Linked DNA regions of Homo sapiens: region 2 is linked to region 1. Evidence: promoter capture Hi-C in human tissues and cell types (Jung and others, 2019). All regions are on one chromosome and are shown on one strand. Each heading gives the region's core, a stretch centred on a gene start or on the middle of the fragment in contact. The rest is flanking DNA. Distances are from core to core; before and after follow the strand shown. Region 1 holds the start of ADCYAP1 (adenylate cyclase activating polypeptide 1). Region 2 overlaps LOC107985165 (a long non-coding RNA gene).

Region 1 (6,991 bases), core at 2,860-5,359:
TCAAGGATTGACCCTTCAACAAAGGCGGATGTGTTAGCCACCAGGAAAAACAATTCGGGGAAGGGTTAGTTTGACTTTTAGCTATTATTTATCATTTCTTACCCAAACTTGTTTTCACATCTGAAGGACCAACAGGATAAAAGTTGATACATTAGGGACTTGAAGTTCAGAGTATTATTAAATCATTTCCAACAAATATATATAAACAGCGTCTTCCGGGCAGGTCAGGGCTTAGCTCAAGTCACTTTCAGTTGCTGTGCCTCAGGGAGGATGCTGGTTAGACCTCCCACTGAAAGATTTCCATTGTTCTTCTAACTTTTCTAGCCAAACATGATTCCAGTTAATGTAACAATCTCACAGCCTGGAAAGAAACTGCCAGCCTGGGAAATCTACTTTTCTGGCCTGGGAAGTATTCTGGTGAGCACTGAGGGAAGGGAGTAGGGGTGTTGGAAAGAAGACTTGAAATTCCTTTGTGTTATCTGTAAATAGAACGTTCTAACTCTTTGGTCTCTTCTTCCTCCTCTCCCCCAACCCCCTCTTTCATCATTTTCAATTATATATAGGAGGTTGGAAAGTTTCTCTTGAGCTCTTAACCCCAGTCACCTAAATACCCTTTGTGAGGGAAACTGGGTAAGAACAATTAAAGTGGAAGGCTCTCCTACCCTGGTCTTGCTCTTCCCCAATTCTCCTCTAGCTCCTCCTCCCTTTATCTCTCTCTCTTCTCATAAAAGTGCTTTAGTTGAGGCTTCCTAGGATTCACCCTCCAGCTCCTATCTGCACTTGAAGCCAGGCTGGGGTCTGCACTTGCAATTAGTATGTCTGTTGGACTGGGCCACGGTATCCCACCTGGCCACTGCCGCATGCCTCCTCAGTGCATGCCGGGGCTCCTGGTCTCTCTAGCCTGGGGCTTTGGGCTGACAAGTTCCCTCTTCCTTGCAGCTCCCTCAAAGTCCCAGACACAAAGGCCTCCAGGATGCTCTGTTAATGCTTGACTGGAGCCTTCCAAGATTAGAATCAAAGGGGCATTTGGGGGTAGTTTTGGTCTTTGAGACTTCAGTCATCCCATATTCCCTCTACCCAATAGAAAGCAGAAGGGGCCTATACTCTCATCTAGCAGCTTCTAGTTCCTCCTATCTATTGGCCTTTTCCCTTGGCCCAGGGCCAAGGCCAGATTTTCATGAATAGGAAAGCTCTCCTGCAGAGAGATGTCAAACATGCCCAGCTAGACAATGGCCATGAGCAACAAAAGATCTGTGGGTGATCCTGTAGGAGTTTGATTCCCCCAGGCTGCTGTGGGCAGGGCTGTGTGGGTCTTTAGATTGTGTTGAGCAATTGGTGGGTCTAGGAAGCTTGATTTTCTGGAGTTCAGTGACCAAGAATCTCAAGTTCTCTGTTTAGTCTTTCACTCTCGTGAATGGGTTCAGGTCTGAAGGCCTGTAATTTTTGGGTGCTGAGCCCCGAGTTCTGAGCTGAGAGTATCTAAGCTGAGAAGAGCACGGGGTCGCAGCCTTGGTAAGTCAGAGGCACAGTTCAGCCTCTGTTGGCCCTTGGAGCCAGCAGTTAGTCGTCCTCCCCAGATAGTTAATCGTGTTTGTGGTTTTCCCCCTTTAATGGGCCGTGAAGTCAGCAAACTCCCCACATGGTGGCTCCCTTTACTAAAGTTGAGTAGTGAATTGTACAAGGAGTCTTGGAAATTTTCAAATATTTCTCCAGATTGAACTCAACTCAGAATTCGTGTGGGAGGAAAGAGTAAGGATTTTAATGGGGTTCACCTTTGACGTGAAGCAAGGCGGAAGACAGGAAAGCCACAGTGGGGAATAGCTTTGGGCGCTTTAGTAAGAAAGACATCTCTGCTTGATTATCTGGTAGTGTTCACCGCAGGCTCTTTGTGTGCGAGCTTGCTGCAGAGGCAGAGCTGAACATGGAAAACACGCATGTAAACAGTCCAACATAAATCAGTGAGCATATGTATCAGAGAAAAAGAGACATATTCCCATGTAGATGTGGTTTGAAGCTTTATTGAAGGCAGACAATCTGAAGCACGGCCAGGAATAAACTAAGAGGAAGCAGACAGTTTTCGGTCATTCATGGCCAGGAATAAACAAAACTTAGTTTTTTTTTTTAAGAAGGAGGAAGTATTAAATCTCAAATAAGAGCAGGAACAGCATTTAGAAGGAGAAATATAATATCTTGGAAAAAGCATGCAGAACTAATATAGCTTATTTAAATGTGAGATCCAAATCGTAGTAACAGGAAACCCTCCCACTAAACTGGAATTTCCCCTAATTTTTGTGTAAGATCCAAATAATTAAAATGCACTCTAATGGTTATTGATGGCTCTATTTTCTTTCTTTCTTTCTTCTTCTTCTTTTTTTTTTTTTTAAAGAAATAGACCTGAGTTCTCTTACTGGAGTAGAAATATATGAACCTTCTTCAATTACCCAGGAAATTGGAAGCCTCTGGGTGGATATGGTCTTCCCTTATTGCTTTCCTCTTCCCACATCATTTTCAGTTAAAAAAATTAACTGTTTCCAGCAGAGGGATTCCTGTTAGAAACCTTCATCAGGTGAACTTGTACTGGGAACCCTCATGCTTTCCCAGTCTGTCTGTGTCTCCCAAACAGAGCTGAAGTTGTAAACAAAGTGGAAAAACATATTTCTCGCCCCCAAATTCTTAAAATTTCACTTCTTGTGGAAAACACAATTTCACAACATCAATTTTTAAAATCTGTAAGAGCCACAGAAGGTGTGAAAGTAGCCAAACAGCCGGTCTAGAAATCCAAAAGCCAGGACTAACGGGGGACAGAATGCTTTTTCCTCAAATCCAGGCAGGGATGGGGAGCATTCTCAGCATTAGGGCATTTATGGACGCTACAAGAGGGAAAGGATGTATCTGAACGGTGGGGGTGATTTAGGCGATGAATCGCCACGTTAATAGCACTACTGCCAAATCTTCAAATTTAGAGGCTCTGGTGAAAAATTAAACCGGTGGCAATTTTCAACGTTTGTAGCATCTGTTACCCTACACTTCAGCACCCGGAGTCTGGACAGCTCCGCAGGCCGCGCTCCGGAGGCAGCATGAGCTCTCATCAATCTACTCATAGCCCTACTGTCAACGGCAGCCAGACTCAGGAGAGATTTACTGAAAATCCTCCAAGACTTCCCTTTAAAAACAAAACGACTTCCACATTTAATGGTCTATCTGAAAGAACATACGCAAGAAATTAGGAGATCTAAATTAAATTTATTAATAGGAGAGCTTGATGATGCTTAATTCCAGAGACCAGAGCTCTGATTGGTGAGGCTTGATGAAAAAGTAAAGAGAAATCGTAATTATATAGTTAAAAACATAACTTTTGTCATCCTCAAAATTCTAAAAATTCTTTACCTGTCCTTGAGAAACGGGTGAAATTGAAAACCATCAAAACAATTGGACTTCTTAAAAATTGGATTGTATGAGTGAAAGGTGTTTATGAGAAGTCGATGACTCCGGATCTTATCATCCAAGAGGACAGCACAGAATAGTTAATATGTTCCTTGAGGGACTAGGATGCTGACGTCTTTTTCTGATACCCGATCATTACGTGACTGAGAAAAAAAAAAAGGAAGTCATTTCATGAATAAAAATCGGAGCGCAACAGTGCAACAAAATATTCTGTACTTAAAGGCAACAGGCAGGCAGATGTTGACAAAGAGGGCTCTCCAAAAACCATGTTCGGATAGATTTTTGCGAACTGCACAGATAAATAGGAGCAGAAGGCCGGTCACCTCTGTAACCAGCGGTAGCAGCAGCAGAAGCCGCAGCTTCAGAGGCAGCCGGAGAGACCTCGGAGCAGAGAAGGCGCCGCCGACCCTCGCGGCTGCCTGGCCCGCGGCTCCTACAAAGGCGGGCTAGCCGCCCGCCCTCTCCCTTGCCTTCCTCCCCTTCTTTTCTGACTTTCCCTCTTTCCCTTAATCGCCTGCTTCTTCCTCCGGGTGGACTTACGGCCACCTTGCTCCTCCGCGCTTCACCTCATCGCCCCCTCTTTCTTTCTTCTGCCTCTCTCTCTGCGCCCCCTTCTCTCCGTGTCACGCTCCCTCCTGGTTCTGCGCGTCTACAAACTTTTGAGCAGAACACGAGCCTCGGCAAACGAGTCCCGCAGCTCCTCCTGCTGCTCCCGCTGGTTCCTGCGGCTTCTGCTCAGACACCAACGCCAGACGGCGATGCCTCTCGGGTGGTGACTCCAGCGCAGGAACTTGAAGAAGCGCTTTGCCCGCCGTCCTACCTGGCAGCTCTCCTGGCAGCGGGAGGAGTTGAAGGGTAAGGGAGGGAAAATCTTACCAAAGCGACCGGCTCACTCGACTGCTGATTCTTTCGCTTGGCATCGCGTCAGGGGAGTTAGCTTTCCTTCAGCCGGGTCTGGCTAGTTATTGGGCGCCGGGTAGATGCATATATATATATTTTTTTCTAACTATAGCAAGCAAGAAGTGGCAGGGCGCGCACCGGCTGTCGCCAAGTGCTGTTCAACTCAGGGAGCCGGGGCTTCGCTCCGTCCCTCCCCCGGCTTCCAGAGCTTTTTGGGGTTGGAGGGTGGGAGGCCAGGGGCGTTCTCACAGCTGTGTGTCCTCTTTCCCATCCTGCGCAGAATGACCATGTGTAGCGGAGCGAGGCTGGCCCTGCTGGTCTATGGGATAATCATGCACAGCAGCGTCTACAGCTCACCTGCCGCCGCCGGACTCCGGTTCCCCGGGATCAGGTAGGTGCTGGCTGCCTGGCCCAAGCAGGAGCTGGGGCTTCCCAGGCACAGACGCTTCCTCACGGTCTCCTTCCTGCAGTCCTTTGGGTCCAGACTACTAGCATCGCCCTCTGCGCCCCCGGTGCGCCTCCGCCAGCCTCGGCTGGACAGCGGGTCCCCATTCTAGCCGAGGGTCTGGCAGGCTCCGCGACTGCTCGGACGCCTCCCCCAGCCCTAGGCAGCTCAGGGTCCCGGGTAGAGCCAGTGAGCTTCTGGCCGCTGGAGAACCCCCCCTCCCCCAACCCGGCCCACAGGATGGGGGCAGGGCACGGCCCCTAGCTTGGTTTCTTTTACCTATTCTTGGGACGAGTTAGGAGAACTTCAGCTCTGGAGCCTGGCCGGGGGTTGAGCGTGAAGCTCCCTCGGACTTTGCTTTGTTACTGCTTGTTCTGGACTATCCGGGTGGGGTCTCTCTCTCTCCTCCACCCTTTCTTTTCATTTCATTCCAATTCTTTCCCCTGAAGAGCTTTCTTTCAAGTGATCCGTGTTCCAACTGCATTTTGAATCCCAGGCTGTCTTGGGGGGCGTGCGGTGGGGAGGGTGTTGGCCCGGTGTGATTGAGGAAAAGCGACTTAAGAGAGGGAAGAACAAGGACGAGACTGCGAAGGAGGGGGAAAAACAGGCGCAAAGGAGGAGGAAGGGAAAGCCAGCAGGCAGGCAGGACCGGGAGAGCAGCCCTGCCTGGCCCGGGATGGAGGAACCTTGGCTTTTTTCTTAACCCCGGGTTTCTAACCGGCAGGCGCGGCCCAGGTTCCCGGAGGCAGCCCCAGAGTCGCGGACCGATGTGCCAGGCTGTGGATGAGCCCTGGGTAGGGGAGGGTTCGTACCAGCGGCGCCTGGGGCAGCGAGGAGCGCGCGTTCTGCCTGCGAAGCTGCCTTCTCCGAGCCCCGCCCAGGAACATTAGCTCTGGGGGGCCGCTGATCATTGATTTGGACGGAGAGATGGGTTCTGGGTTCTGTATTAGGATTCCAGCATCTGGGCTCGAGGCAGGGCAATATCCAGAAAGACCCCAGGGTTCGGGGTACCCGGGCCAGGGCTGAGGCGCATCGCCGAGCAAAGGCTGGGTGCGAGGCGTGCGGAATGATGCGCTTGCCTTGCCCGGGCCTCTCCAAGGATGGAGAAAAGGCGAGTGAAGCAGCGAAGTACGACTCCAACCCCGCCCAGAGAGTGCTACTAGCGCTGGCTGCACGCCAAGTCTCTCCAGGGGTCCAAAGCGAGAGGGATTTGTTTTAACCCATCTCTACCCGTCCTGTGTCAAGAACGGAGGCTGTAGAGGGCGACTGCGAAGTCGCCAGGCACTCGCTGGATCTCGGTCCCCCTCCTCGTGCTCTGGGGTTGAGATGGGGCACCGCCATCGATAACAGATCAGCGCGAACTATTCGTTTAGTGGCCTTAAAACACCCTGGTTTCACCCTCAGCTATTTTCAAGTTCCCGTGTGCCTGGCACTTTCTCCGTGCGAGAAGCACCGGAGGGTGCGGACGCGCCACAGTCTGAGCCGCCGCCGAACTGGCTAAGTTTAGGGGCATTTATTATTCATGTTCCTGCCAGATCCTCGCCTGCCCAAAATAGAAACCGAGGTTCTCCGTGACCTACATCTGCTCGGAGAAGGGCTCCCCTGGGCTCGGAGGCTGGGGTGGGGGTGGCTGAGGAGTTGGCCCCCGCACGCCCCACGCATCCTCTCCTTTGCTTTCTGGGCCTCCCCATTCGGGTCTTCGCGTGGGTCAGCGCCCGGTCTCCCAGGGCCTTTCTCGTCCCCGCCCGTTGCTGCTTTGGGGAGGCTCGGGAGCCAGGCGGGGAGGGGGGCGGTCCTTTTCCGTAGACAGGTGTGCGCGATCGGCGGAGACGCCTCGGTTTCCCAGCGCTTGTTGAGGCCGTGGCCCGCAGGACGACCCTTTACCCGCGAAGGGGGGGTGGGCGGGCCGCCCGGCGGGGTAGGAGTGGTTGGGTGTCGTTGCCTCCTCCTTACCTCTGCTCCCACCCCCAGTCCTGGGAGAAGAGACAATTCTCAGCGGAGGACTTTTATCACCTGTGAAAATCCGCGCGAGCCCCTTACTTTGGATCCTCGCCGAGCTGGGGAGGAACTTGCACTGACCACACCTTCTGTCCCCGGCCACCCCGCAGGCCAGAGGAAGAGGCGTACGGCGAGGACGGAAACCCGCTGCCAGACTTCGATGGCTCGGAGCCGCCGGGCGCAGGGAGCCCCGCCTCCGCGCCG
Region 2 (6,521 bases), core at 207-2,706, 130 kb after region 1:
TGAGTTAAGGAGGATTCCGTCTTTTTCTATTGATTGGAATAGTTTCAGAAGGAATGGTACCAGCTCCTCTTTGTAGCTCTGGTAGAATTTGGGTGTGAATCCATCTGGTCCCGGACTTTTTTTGTTGGTAGGCTATTAATTATTGCCTCAATTTCAGAACATGTTATTGGTCTATTCAGAGATTCAACTTCTTCCTAGTTTAGTCTTTGGAGGGTGTACGTGCCGAGGAATTTATCCATTTCTTCTAGATTTTCTAGTTTATTTGCATAGAGGTGTTTATAGTATTCTCTTATGGTAGTTTGTATTTCTGTGGGATCGGTGGTGATATCCCCTTTATCATTTCTTACTGCGTCTATTTGATTCTTCTCTCTTTTCTTCTTTATTAGTCTGGATAGCAGTCTATCTATTTTGTTAATCTTTTCAAAAAACCAGCTCTTGGATTCACTGGTTTTTTGAAGGGTTTTTTGTGTCTCTATCTCCTTCAGTTCTGCTCTGTATTTAGTTATTTCTTGCCTTCTGCTAGCTTTTGAATTTGTTTGCTCTTGCTTCTCTAGTTGTTTTAATTGTGATGTTAGGGTGTCAATTTTAGATCTTGCCTGCCTTCTCTTGTGGGCATTTAGTGCTATAAATTTCCCTCTACACATTGGTTTAAATGTGTCCCAGAGATTCTGGTATGTTGTGTCTTTGTTCTCACTGGTTTCAAAGAACATCTTTATTTCTGCCTTCATTTCATTACTTACCCAGTAGTCATTCAGGAGCAGGTTGTTCACTTTCCATGTAGTTGTGTGGTTTTGAGTGAGTTTCTTAGTCCTGAGTTCTAATTTGATTGCACTGTATTCTGAGAGACAGTTTGTTGTGATTTCTGTTCTTTAACATTTGCTGAGGAGTGTTTTACTTTTAATTATGTGGTCAATTTTAGAATAAGTGTGATGTGGTGCTGAGAAGAATGTATATTCTGTTGATTTGGGGTGTAGAGTTCTGTAGATATCTATCAGGTCTGCTTGGTTCAGAGCTGAGTTCAAGTCCTGGATATCCCTGTTAATTTTCTGTCTCATTGATCTGTCTAATATTGATAGTGGGGTGTTAAAGTCTCCCATTATTATTGTGTGGGAGTCTAAGTCTCTTTGTAGGTCTTTAAGAACTTGCTTTATGAATCTGGGTACTCCTGTATTGGGTGCATATATATTTAGGATAGTTAGCTCTTCTTGTTGAATTGATCCCATTATCATTGTGTAATGGCCTTTTTTGTCTCTTTTGATCTTTGTTGGTTTAAAGTCTGCTTTATCAGAGACCAGGATTGCAACCAACACCTGCTTTTTTTTTCTGCTTTCCATTTGCATGGTAGATGTTCCTCCATCCTTTTATTTTAAGCCAATGTGTGTCTTTGTATGTGAGATGGGTCTCCTGAATACAGCACACCGATGGGTCTTGACTCTTTATCCAATTTGCCAGTCTGTGTCTTTTAATTGGGGAATTTAGCCCATTACATTTAAGGTTAAGATTGTTATGTGTGAATTTGATCCTGTCATTGTGATGCTAGCTGGTTATTTTGCCCGTTAATTGATACAGTTTCTTTATAGGGTTGATGGTCTTTACAATTTGGCATGTTTTTGCAGTAGCTGGTACCGGCTGTTCCTTTCCATGTTTAGTGCTTCCTTCAGGAGCTCTTGTAAGGCAGGCCTGGTGGTGACAAAATCTCTCAGCATTTGCTTGCCTGTAAAGGATTTTATTTCTCCTTCACTTATGAAACTTAGTTTGGCTGGATATGAAAATTCTGGGTTGAAAATTCTTTTCTTTAGGAATGTTGAATATTAGTCCCCGACTCTCTTCTGGCTTGGAGGGTTTCTGCTGAGAGATCCACTGTTAGTCTGATGGGCTTACCTTTGTGGGTAACCCAACCTTTCTCTTTGGCTGCCCTTAACATTTTTTCCTTCATTTCAACTTTGGTGAATCTGACAGTTGTGTGTCTTGGAGTTGCTATTCTCGAGGAGTATCTTTGTGGCATTCTCTGTATTTCCTGGATTTGAATGTTGGCCTGCCTTGCTAGGTTGGGGAAGTTCTCCTGGATAATGTTCTGAAGAGTGTTTTCTAACTTGGTTCCATTCTCCCCATCACTTTCAGATACACCAATCAAATGTAGATTTGGTCTTTTCACATAGTCTTTTTTCTCTAATATTGTCTTCACACTTTATTTCATTAATTTGATCTTCAATCACTAATATCCTTTCTTCTGCTTGATTGAATTAGCTATTGAAGCTTGTTTATGCTTCATGAGGTTCTCATACTGTGGTTTTCAGCTCCATCAGGTCATTTAAGGTCTTCTCTATGCATTTATTCTAGTTAGCCATTCGCCTAACCTTTTTTCAAGGTTTTTAGCTTCCTTGCAATGGGTTAGAACATGCTTCTTTAGCTTGGAGAAGTTTGTTATTGCCAATCTTCTGAAGCCTACTTCTGTCAACTCGTCAAACTCATTCTCCATTCAGTTTTTTTTCCCTTGCTGGCGAGGAGTTGTGTTCCTTTGGAGGAGAAGGGGCATTCTGGTTTTTGGAATTTTCAGCCTTTCTGTTCTGGTTTCTCCCCATCTTTGTGGTTTTATCTACCTTTGGTCTTTGATGCTGGTGACCTATGGATGGGGTTTTGCTGTGGATGTCCCTTTTGTTTATGTTGGTGCTGTTCCTTTCTGTTTGTTAGTTTTCCTTCTAACAGCCAGGCCCCTCAGTTGCAGGTCTGTTGGAGTTTGCTGGAGGTCCACTCCAGACCCTGTTTGCCTAGGCATCACCAGTGGAGGCTGCAGAACAGCAAATATTGCTGCCTGATCCTTCCTCTGGAAGCTTCGTCCCAGAGGGGCATCTCCCTGTTTGAGGTGTCTGTAGGCCCCTACTGGGAGGTTTCTCCCAGTCAGACTATGCAGGGGTTAGGGACCCACTTGAGGAGGCAGTCTGTCTGTTATTGGAGCTGAAACGCCATGCTGGGAGATCCACTGCTCTCTTCAGAGCTGTCAGGCAGGGACGTTTAAGTCTGCAGAAGCTCTCTGCTGCCTTTTGTTCAGATATGCCTTGCCCCCAGAGGTGGAATCTAGAGAGGCAGTAGGCCTTACGAAGCTGCTGTGGGCTCCACCTAGTTTGAGCTTCCCTGCTGCTTTGTTTACAATGTCAGCATAGAACTGCCTACTCAAGCTTCAGCAATGGTGGATGCCTCAACCTCCCAAGCTCCAGCTTCCCAGGTCAATCTCAGACTGCTGTGCTAGCAGCAAGCAAGGCTCCATGGGAGTGGGACCTGCTGAGCCAGGCATAGGAGGGAATCTCCTGGTCTACCAGTTGTGAAGACTGTGGGAAAAGTGCAGTATTTATTCAGGAGTGTACCATTCCTCCAGGTACAGTCACTCATTGCTTCCCTTAGCTAGGAAAGGGAAATCCCCCGACCCCTTACGCTTCCTGGGTGAGGGAACGCCCTGTCCTGCTTCGGCTCGCCCTCCATGGGCTTTACCCACTGTCCAACAGTCCGAATGAGATGAACCAGGTACCTCAGTTGGAAATGCAGAAATCACCTGTCTTCTGCATCTATCTTGCTGGGAGCTGTAGACCAGAGCCGTTCCTATTTGGCCATCTTGGAAGTGACCTTTTCCATATTATTAATGTTTTCAAAGAACTAACTTTTGGCTTTGACAAGTGTCTGCCTTTCATTTTTGTTTTTAATTTTATTCAAATTAATTTTATTAATCTCTGCTTTTATCTTCATTATTTCTTTACCTGAACTTTTCTTAGGTTGGATTTACTGTAAGATTACATATTTTTGATGCAAGTTTTACATTCTCATGAAAACATTTACAACGTATTTTTAAAAATACATTACACTACACACACACACACACACTCACACACTTCTTTTTCCAAACTTGGTGACAGTGAATTTCTTTCACAACCCAAATGTAAATGTGGGAGATGAACAAAATGGAATATTTTTAAAAGTTGCCACTGAGGGGAGTACAGATCCTGGTCAAAAACCTCTGCATAACTTTCAGGCCCAACCTTAGACAATTACAAAGACCTTATCTGGCAGGCCTCATAGGGCAGAGCTGCCATGCCCCCTGAGACTTGGCGACACCCAGTGCACTGCAGTCTGAGAAAGCAGTGACTGTCAAGGACTCAGCCCTGGCCAGCCATGCTGTTATACATGGCTGCATTCCTAGCCCAGATGCCTCCTTTTGGAAGCCTCTTTATCCAGGGCCATCAGCAGAGACTTCCTTATTGTGGAGAGGGAGGAGGAGACCCTGAAGACATTTTCCTCTACTCTGACTCAGTACTTAATGCTTTTCTACACTCCTGCCTACTTCCCCTTATTGCCCAGGTTCATAAGACTTCAGGGCCTTTTGTTTGGGGCTCCCTTGGCAGTGAGGTGACCGTCACATTTATGCCGATCCTCCTGACCCTGAACTGGTGCTATTCTGAGGGGGAAAATTAAACGGGAGTTGACACTTTCTCTGATTTAGCCTCTTGCTTAGACTATTGCTAAAGGCAAGACTAAAGGCTTGCCTGTTACTTTCTTTTTTAAAAAATGTTTTTTTTAAATTTCAATTTAAATTTTAAGTTTTAGATTCAGGGGGTACATGGGTAGGTTTTTTACATGGGTATATTGCATGATGTATATGCTGAGGTATATCTGCTGAGGCTTGGGCCTCTATTAATCCCATCACCCAAATAGTTAACATAGTCCCCAGTGGAGACTTTATTAACCCTTACCCCTGCCATCCCTGTCTTTCAGAGTTTCCAGTGTCTACTGTTCCCATTTTTGTGTCTGTGTGTACCCAAATGTTCAGCTCCAATTTATAAGTAAGAACAGGCAGTATTTGATTTTCTGTTTCTGCATTAATTCGCTTAGGATAATGGCCTCCAGCTACATCTATGCTGCTGCAAAAGACATGATTTTGTTCTTTTTTTGTGGCTGCATATTATTCCATGGTGTATATGTACCATATTTTCTTTAACCAGTCCACCGTTGATGGGCACATAAGTTGGTCCCATGTCTTTGCTATTGTGAAGAGTGCTGCAATAAACATATGAGAGCCAGTGCTTTTTTGGTAGAACAATTTATTTTCCTGTGGGTATATACCCAGTAATGGGCTTACTGGGTCAAATAGTAATTCTATTTTTAGTTCTTTGAGACATCTTCAAACTGCTTTCCGTGGTGCCTGAACTAATTTACATTGCCACCAACACTGTGTGTTTTCTTTTCTCTGCAACCATGCAAACTCCGTGTTAGGTTGCCTGTTACTTTCATTTGAGCTTGTGTTAGCTGGTTTCCCTGACACCTGACTCAGCAATTTCTAGCTCAGGTCAGCTCCTAATAACTACTCTGATAATCTTGGGATGTTTTAGAAATTTTCATGTAGACAATTTGAAATCATAGGCACATACTGAAAAGTAAGAAGGTGAATAAAGCCTAATTTGATACAGATCGACAATATTCATCTTGTTCTTCTTGTGCAAATATCAAATTTCTCTCTAGAGGATTTTCCCCCTCACATAAAAATATCTCCAAAATCTTTTCACATGCAGGCAAAGAATTAAGAATTTTCATTAACTCTTTTCTTCTCCTAAGGTACGGAAAAGTTTTTAAAAAATATTTTTTCCTGCTTATTGATTTGAAGTTTTGCTTTAAATGGAAAAAGGTCCTGGTTCTCAAACTGCCTAAGATTTAGGTGGAAGAAGTTTGAGGCTACACAGAGTTCTGAAGGGAATCAGACACCAAGAGGAGACATACGTGACTGTTCCTCATAGTGCTAACCTCCTGTATAATGTCTGGGCATTTACACAATGTTTACACTGTGTTTGTGTAGTATAACCAATCATTTTAGATTTTCAAGATATATATCTCTAAGTTGGTTGTTATTAATATCATGTATACTTTTCTACCAAACTTCGTTTTGTTTCTAGCTTTGTTTTGTTGTTAATACAAAATCCCAGAATGATATGTCAGTAAGAAATGACCTGATTTGCCAATTGTTCAGAATTTTTACCTCATATCACTAGCGTTTTTAGAGGAAAAATATGAATGAAAAATGGTGCTCCTCTTTGCCCTCTCCTGTGCAGCTGTTCTTCATTGTTTAGAGCTTTGCCTTGAGGATCCAGAGTGTTGTTTCTCCATCCCGTTCATCCAGTGTCCCCTGGGAGGAGCTGAGAAAACACTGAATAAAATTGCAGTGCTCCATGTTAAGGATGAACAAAGAGTAGCACAACAGAATGAGTATTACAGACCAGAACTACAGGGCTGCATTTATTTTCTCTCCATCTTCTCCCTCTTTTCCTTCTGCATTTAGACTTTCTAAATTGAGGTTACCTTTAGCTTTGGGGTATCTTTAGGAGGATTGTTGTTTTAGAAAAAATTTCAGATCTGAAGAGAGGCCGATTGGCAGCCAGGTAGGCTCTCCAGCCTAGGCCATCATGTCAGAAAAGGAAGTGTGAATTCTGGGCACAAATCATAGAAGTTAGGATTATAAGCATGGTTAAGAGAGTTTTTGCTGC

The links. Contacts are between HindIII fragments. The study calls those that stand out against the background at their distance.
Region 2: a contact is called between a fragment that was not itself captured here and the fragment with the promoter of ADCYAP1 in region 1, in 2 of the 25 tissues and cell types used here (H1 embryonic stem cells and mesendoderm cells).

The regions. Positions count from the first base shown.
Region 1 is chr18:900,762-907,752 of GRCh38, forward strand. It overlaps ADCYAP1 (adenylate cyclase activating polypeptide 1), which reads left to right and starts at 4,110. Exons shown (of 5, transcript NM_001099733.2): 1 at 4,110-4,299; 2 at 4,625-4,735; 3 at 6,898-6,991. The coding sequence starts at 4,626. It overlaps LOC124904340 (a long non-coding RNA gene), which reads right to left and starts at 5,891. Exons shown (of 2, transcript XR_007066435.1): 1 at 4,321-5,891; 2 at 2,003-3,587. RefSeq lists an enhancer at 6,955-6,991. The HindIII fragment of the contact is 12,558 bases long and covers 1,682-6,991 here.
Region 2 is chr18:1,031,827-1,038,347 of GRCh38, forward strand. All of the region lies in intron 1 of LOC107985165 (a long non-coding RNA gene), which reads left to right. Among named protein-coding and RNA genes, the nearest start is that of LINC01904, 110 kb to the left of the region's middle. The HindIII fragment of the contact is 3,093 bases long and covers 1-3,003 here.